2 separate regions of the Homo sapiens genome follow, and region 1 is linked to region 2. The links are contacts of gene promoters, found by promoter capture Hi-C in blood cells and fetal thymus (Javierre and others, 2016). All regions are on one chromosome and are shown on one strand. Each heading gives the region's core, a stretch centred on a gene start or on the middle of the fragment in contact. The rest is flanking DNA. Distances are from core to core; before and after follow the strand shown. Region 1 overlaps RPS24 (ribosomal protein S24). Region 2 holds the start of ZCCHC24 (zinc finger CCHC-type containing 24).

The links. The method cuts DNA at HindIII sites, captures the fragments that hold promoters and counts their contacts. A CHiCAGO score of 5 or more calls a contact.
Region 1: a fragment that was not itself captured here is called in contact with the fragment with the promoter of ZCCHC24 in region 2 in 1 of 17 cell types (naive B cells); the score reaches 5.3 in naive B cells.

The regions. Positions count from the first base shown.
Region 1 is chr10:78,038,383-78,041,812 of GRCh38, reverse strand. It overlaps RPS24 (ribosomal protein S24), which reads right to left. Exons shown (of 6, transcript NM_033022.4): 5 at 1,588-1,609; 6 at 1,116-1,198. The coding sequence ends at 1,607. Among named protein-coding and RNA genes, the nearest start is that of RPS24, 6.2 kb to the right of the region's middle. RefSeq lists enhancers at 463-512, 581-1,082, 1,403-1,912, 1,913-2,424. The HindIII fragment of the contact is 642 bases long and covers 936-1,577 here.
Region 2 is chr10:79,443,923-79,447,108 of GRCh38, reverse strand. ZCCHC24 (zinc finger CCHC-type containing 24) reads left to right here and starts at 1,485. Exons shown (of 4, transcript NM_153367.4): 1 at 1,485-1,914. The coding sequence starts at 1,669. LOC105378383 (a long non-coding RNA gene) reads right to left here and starts at 868. Exons shown (of 4, transcript XR_946104.4): 1 at 1-868. RefSeq lists silencers at 1,053-1,562, 1,573-1,632. The HindIII fragment of the contact is 21,833 bases long and covers 1-3,186 here.

The DNA of each region.
Region 1 (3,430 bases), core at 7-2,506, 1.4 Mb after region 2:
CAGTTCTCAATTGCTTCCTTCCACTCTCCCTGCATCAACTTAGCAACCACCCCCAGCTCCACGTCCTGTCCCATCCCATCCCATCCCATCCCTGCAGCACTGTCAGGATCCTCACCACCTTGCCTCTGCAAGCTGCTCACAGGGTGCCTTCTCTGCTTCCACACTCCAGCTCAGTCACAGGAAACTGCATCTCAAACCCCAACCTTTGCTGCCCCTAGCATTACCTTCAGCCTGGTATGCACTGTTCATCAAAAAATGTCAAATCACATCAAAGACCCCATTCTTCCACACGTTCTGTACTAGTAAGCCATTTCCTGGTCCTAGCAAAGTAGTAGCAGATTCCTTAGCAAGAGAACCTACAGGGCCAGAGGCCCCACAAACCGAAGTACACAGCCTCTGTAGATATGAAAACAGAACTCCAACCACCCCCTGGCCAGCAGGCCCAGCCCCATGACTTAACTCTTCTCAGCCCTGCCCTCCTGTCTGTAGGTGCTCCATGCAGGGGCTGTGACCATCTTTTCTCCAAAACATTCCACTACCCTTCCTTCCTGCAACCTCAACCCTTCTGCCTTCACGGTATTGCTTTTCCTGAGTCCCCTTCATGCCCAACCAAGTCTTTCAGCTCTCTACTGCTTCCTGAGATTTCTCCAGTTTATCCAGACATGGTACTTTTTAGACTCTAAGCCAGACGTGGTCGCTCATGCCAGTACTTTATGTGGCCAAGGTAGGAGGATCGCTTGAGCCCGAGTTCAATCAAGACCAGCCTAGGTAACAAAGCTAGACCCTGTCTCGAAAAAAAAAACACCTCACTGTAGCCTCGAGCTCCTGGGCTTAAGTGTAATCATCCCACCCAAACCTCCCAAAAGTGCTGATGACTGTGAGCCACTACACTGCGTCCACCGCGGACATGGTTCTTAACACAGCATTTACAAGCTTGACTCCCAGATGAACCCACCTAAGCTATAAACCAAGCAGCAAACAAACACCACCCCATGACATTAAGTTTTCACTGAATGCTTCATGGAGCATGTGAACTTGGACAGCAACTGAAATCAGCAGACTAACCTCCTAGCAGTCCCAGGAAACTGCAAATACATTTCAAACAACCAGACACATGAAGTTTTTAGTTTATTAATGTTCTTGCGAAAAATCCACAGTGGCCACAGCTAACATCATTGCAGCACCTTTACTCCTTCGGCTGTGAATCAAGAGAAAGAAGTTTAGTCAACAACTGCCTTTAAAATTCTTTAAAGTCTTCAATTCCAAAAGTAGTAACACTCATGCACAACAATTATTAGTAACCTAGAATATCAAGTTATTTTGATGTTATCATAACACAATGAAAGCATCAAGAAATAAAATTTACAAACATTCAAGTTAAGAATAAAACAAAAATAATGGGCTAAATATTGCTAAACCTTAAAAACAAAACCATGTCACTGTTAGTATTTTAAAAGGTTACAACTCTTCAGAATATTTGTAAATCTACTTCTAGATGTACTACACATGATCTGCTTTTAAATTGCTACGTCAGTACACCAAGGAGTCTAGTGATCTACATGACTACATGAAAAGCTTGAATTATACCTGTGATCCAATCTCCAGCTCACTGAATCAGTGGCGGGGAAGGGAAAAAGAGAAAGGAGGGAAAAGAAAGATTTCATTAATAGTCCCTTTTCAAACTCCAAAATAATCTGCATTTAAGTGCATGCAATCAGGTACCTTAAAGATGACCATTTTGTTCTTTGCAATTGTATACAGAGCACTCCTTCCAGACTCACTGATTTTATTCCTCCCAATTCTGACAATGCCTTGCCTGATTACTGTAGTTCTTATGCAAACGAGGTAGCCGGACTTCACAATGAAGAGATCATTAAGCCAATGTGGTACCCAGGATGGCCTTGCCCACTTGTCAATGAAGTACATACCTGAGCCTCTGCCCCTCTGCTCTGCCCAGCAACATTGTGCTGGACACACACCAGGAACAGTTACGAGAATCATTACAGATTCAAGTCTAATTTAACCTCAATGGGAGTGCTCTAAATGATCAGGCAAGTCTTTTAAAAGCTGCCTCAGTTCAATAAAAGATACCATTCACAGCCACAAAAGTAGTACAAGTTAGTATTTAAAAAGAGGCATTAATTTAGCTGAACTAAAAATACAATTGCTCCTCAGATATGAGACTACTAATGCCTTAGTATAAGTAACTTAGTATATAACTCCATCGCAACCAAAAAGCAAGAACAAATACCAATTCTAACATCTAAACAAAACTGAATTAAAAGCAATATTGCTATGGCATTTCTTTGGAGCCAAAGAATTTATGTACTCAAATGCATTGATTTTTCCAGCTGGCTTTTCAGAGCAGTGCTAGTGAGAGGCACCAGTGTAACTTGAAGCAGGAATAGTGATGGCTCAGGTCCCCACAGGTAGCTCCTCCATACCTGTGGGACTCAAAGGCTAAGGGCACTAACTCATAGGGCTCAAAGGCTGGATGAAGAGAACAATCAATGTGTTAAATGTCCTTCAGACCTAGGTCAGAGGACAAATTTTGACTAATTCTTTTGACTAATTCTTTTTGCAACTTCTCTCAACAGGTACAATCCTCACAAACAGGGAGTAGTTCTTAGTGAGTAGTTCTGCTGGCAGTTCATTCATTACATACTCCATGGCGCTGGGACATCAATGTGATTACAGTCCTGGGCAGGCAATCCCAGGTTTACTGCCTTGCCTGGCAGGGAATCACTGCAAAAGGATGCCACAAGAACAAGGGCCTTCATTGATTCAAAATCCCACTACGCCCACCCCACTCCTACCCCACTTATCACATTACAATTTTAGGCTGTTCAGATGTGCAAAATTTGTTTTAAATGAGGTAACAGGCTGGGCACAGTGGCTCACACCTGTAATCCCAGCACTTTGGAAGGCTTAGACAAGCAGACTGCTCAAGTCCGGGAGTTCAAGAGCAGCCTGAGCAACACGGCTAAATCCTGTCTCTACAAAAAATTGGCAGGGCACGGTGGCACATGCCTGTAGTCGCAGCTACAAGGGAGGCTGAGGTGGGAGAATCACCCAAGCCCGGGAGGTACAGTAACCCATGATCATGCCACTGTACTCCAGCCTGGGTGACAAGAGACCCTGTCTCAAAAAATAAACAAATGAGGTAATGGGCCATTCTAACCAAGTGCTTGTGGGAAAAAGCATATCCACCAAAGACTTTTATATGAATACATAATTACCTCAAAAATTTTCTATTTTAAAAAAAAAAAAAAAGACACCAGGCACAAAGTTGGGAGATTAAGTAATAAAAAGCAATGGAAATGGTAAAAGGCAGTTTTGCGTATATCCAAACAGGACAGAGGCTTTGCCAGATTTCACAGACTAGTTTATTACCAGTGCTGCCAGGCTGGTTTCATGGCTCCAGAGAAGA
Region 2 (3,186 bases), core at 236-2,735:
CGAGCGACCATAGATGTGGTTAGGTGCCCTGCAGGTGATGTGAGTAACTCGTGGAGTGGGTGGCGGGGAAGAGCTGTCCTTTATGGAATATCTTCCGCTTACCAAACCCAAGCTGGGAAGCACACAAATGTCCCCGGCGGCGGGAGGATGACTGCTCCCATTTTACAGAGGAGAAAACAGGCTTGCTCGCAGAGGTTAGGCGTCATGCAGAGGTCATTCCGCTGGACGGTGGCCAAGCTGGCACTCCAACGCTGGGCGGAATGGCTCCAGAGCCAGACTGAAAGTGGGAGAGGTGACTCGGTCCCAGCCAGGCGGTGAGTTCCTCTGGGCTAGGTCCCCGGTGCTGGCGCAGCAAAGACCACCCGGAGAAAGAGACGGTGAAGGCCCCGGGGCTTCCTGGGGCGTCAGGCGGAGGCGGAGGCGGGGGCGGGGCTCCCTCCAGGCAGTCTTGGACTAGCTGAGTTGTCCCAGCGAGATGGGTGACAGCCGCTTTCCCGAGCTCCCCCGGCCCAGGCTGGTGTCCTGGCGACTCGCCAAGGCACCGGGGCGGGCTAGGGCTGGAGCCGGGGTGGAGGAAGAGGGTCGAGAAGCGAGGCGGGCCCAGAGCAGAAATAGGAGAAGGGGGGGGGGAGGGGGCGGGGAGTCTTTCCTGGGGCAGGAACCCGGGCCCCCCTTGGCGCAGCCGGCCCGCAAAGTGATTCTGCAGATGGAAGGAATTAAGTAGGAGGGGGAGGGTCCGATGGTGATAGCGAGAGGAGGGAGTTAGAAGTGTGTGCGTCTGTGTACACGCGTCTGAGAGAGGAGCGGGAGAGACAGGGAGAAACATCAGACCAGACGGAAATAGAAGAAAGGAGACAAGAAGAGTGAGAGAAAGAGAAGGACATACACACACACACACACACACACACACACACGGAGGGCGCCACATACAAGGACGACGGACACAGGAGACTAGTACTAGTCTAAGAGAGAGAGAAAGAAGGAGTATGAGAAAGGAGGGAAAATAGGAAAGGAAAAGTGAGTGAAAAACAATTGCAGAGGATTTGGAAAGAACGAGACAAGAGCGCTGACGACAGAGGGAGACGAAATTGATTAGGCCGGGGCTGCACTGAGCTCCCGGCAGCTCGGGGAGCTGGGTTGGCCGGGCTGGGACGAGGTGGGGCTTGGGCGGGGCCTCGCATGGGCGGGCCCGCGCCGTGCTGCATATGCAGATGAGCCTCACTCCCCTCTCTCCCCACCCCTGACGGTTCATATTCAACGAGACAGCCAATGCAGGGCGAGGACAGTGCCAGGCGGGGCAGGGAGTGGGCGGCGGGGCATCGTGGACCCCACCCCCGGAGCCGCCGCTGGAGGGGTCAGCCGCGAGGCAGATAGCGGATCGCCGGGCGGGGCGGGACGCAGTGGGCGGGGCGGAGGGGCGGGGCCAAAAGTTTCCTGCCCAACTTTCGCTGCCTCCTTCCACCGCCTGCGCGCGCCGGGGCCGCAGTCGGGGGGAGGCGGCGGCAGCGGCAGCGGCTGCGGGCAGCGCGCGGGGCGCAGGGCGCGGGGCGATCACCGTCGGGGCTCGGGAGGCGGGCAGTGGGCACAGGCTCCCCGGTGCCCGCCCCTCCGCTGCGGAGGGGGGCCGCGAGCGGGCGGCCGGGGAGGGGCCGGCACCGCCGCCACAAAATGAGCCTGCTGTCGGCCATCGACACGAGCGCCGCCTCGGTGTACCAGCCCGCCCAGCTGCTCAACTGGGTCTACCTGTCGCTGCAGGACACGCACCAGGCTAGCGCCTTCGATGCCTTCCGGCCCGAGCCGACCGCCGGCGCCGCACCCCCGGAGCTGGCCTTCGGCAAGGGCCGCCCCGAGCAGCTGGGCTCGCCCCTGCACTCCAGCTATCTCAACAGCTTCTTCCAGCTGCAGCGCGGAGAGGTGGGTGCCCCCGCGCGCCCCCGCCCACCGCCCCACCGCCCCACCGCCCCACCGTGGCGGGCCGTTCCCTGTCTGACCCGCTCTTCCTGGCCTGGCGCGGCCCGGCTCCGCATTGCCGGGCCCGGCTTGGCTTGGCTTCGTTCAACTCTGCCAAACTCGCCGCCCGAAGTCCCCGGGGTGCCGGGTGCGCGTCACCTCCCGGCTGAGCCCGGGCTGGAGCAATGCAGGCCGGGGCGGAGCTCTCCCGCCCCCTCTCCCTGCCAGGGCAGCCCTGCTCCAAAGGGGTTGGGGGAGGGAGTTGAGGAGGGGTTGTCTCCGGATTTTCTTCAGACAGCTGGGGTGCGGCCTGGGCGGGGAGCCCCTTCGAAGTGTCCTTCTCACGCCCAACCTTATCCTCGTCCTGGCCACCGCGGGCTGGGACCGAGAGTGCAGATTCTGCTCGGAGCTCCTCTGGAAGGGCCTAAAATCTTTTCTCCGACCTCTGCGGTTCCCGACCCGAAAGGCACCCTGGAGAGCAGTGACTGCCCAGAGGGCTTCTCCTGCTGTTCTCACTCGGGGACCCCAGATACGTCCTCCAGCTGCTCGCCCTCCCCCAGCCACATAGGAAGTGGTTTCTGAGGGCTTGACCCCACAGACTGCGCTGTCCCCAGCCCTCCCAGCCTCGAAGGAAATGAAAGGGAAATCCTCTTGAGCTCTTGGGAGGGGGGCTAGAAAGGGGGGGGGAGAGGTTCCAGCTGCCCAGCGCCTTCTGCAGAAACCTGGGCCGGCTGTGTTGCAAAGTCTGCCTGTTTGGTGGATTCAGTTACAAAGTTGACTGGGCAGCGCCTCTTTGCCAGCAAGATAAATACACAGATCGCCACCACCTCCCAGCCCTTTTTGAAGAGTCTCCAGGGCCTGCCCAGATACCACTCCTTTCCGTGGGCTGGACTCCTCCCCTCCCTCCATTTACTCCTGCCTCATTTGGGAATTTCAGACACCCATCTGTGGCCTTCACTTCCTCCCCTTGTGGGGGTTTTCTCTGCAAAGATGCAAGAGGTGTGTTCGGGGGAGGACACACATGGGGGTCACTTTCCTTCCAGACCTGGGCACACCGGTGAGTTTTAGGAGAGTCAGAGTCCTGAATGGGTTGGGGAGGAAAGCCTATGTACGCAAGGGTGTGCTGGGGGTAAGAGAGGGAGGCAGAGGGTCGCCCTTGAGTTCAACTCTGCCATTATTTACTAGGGGAGGCATGGACATATAAAATGCTGGCCCAAGGCCAACACTACCCAGGCT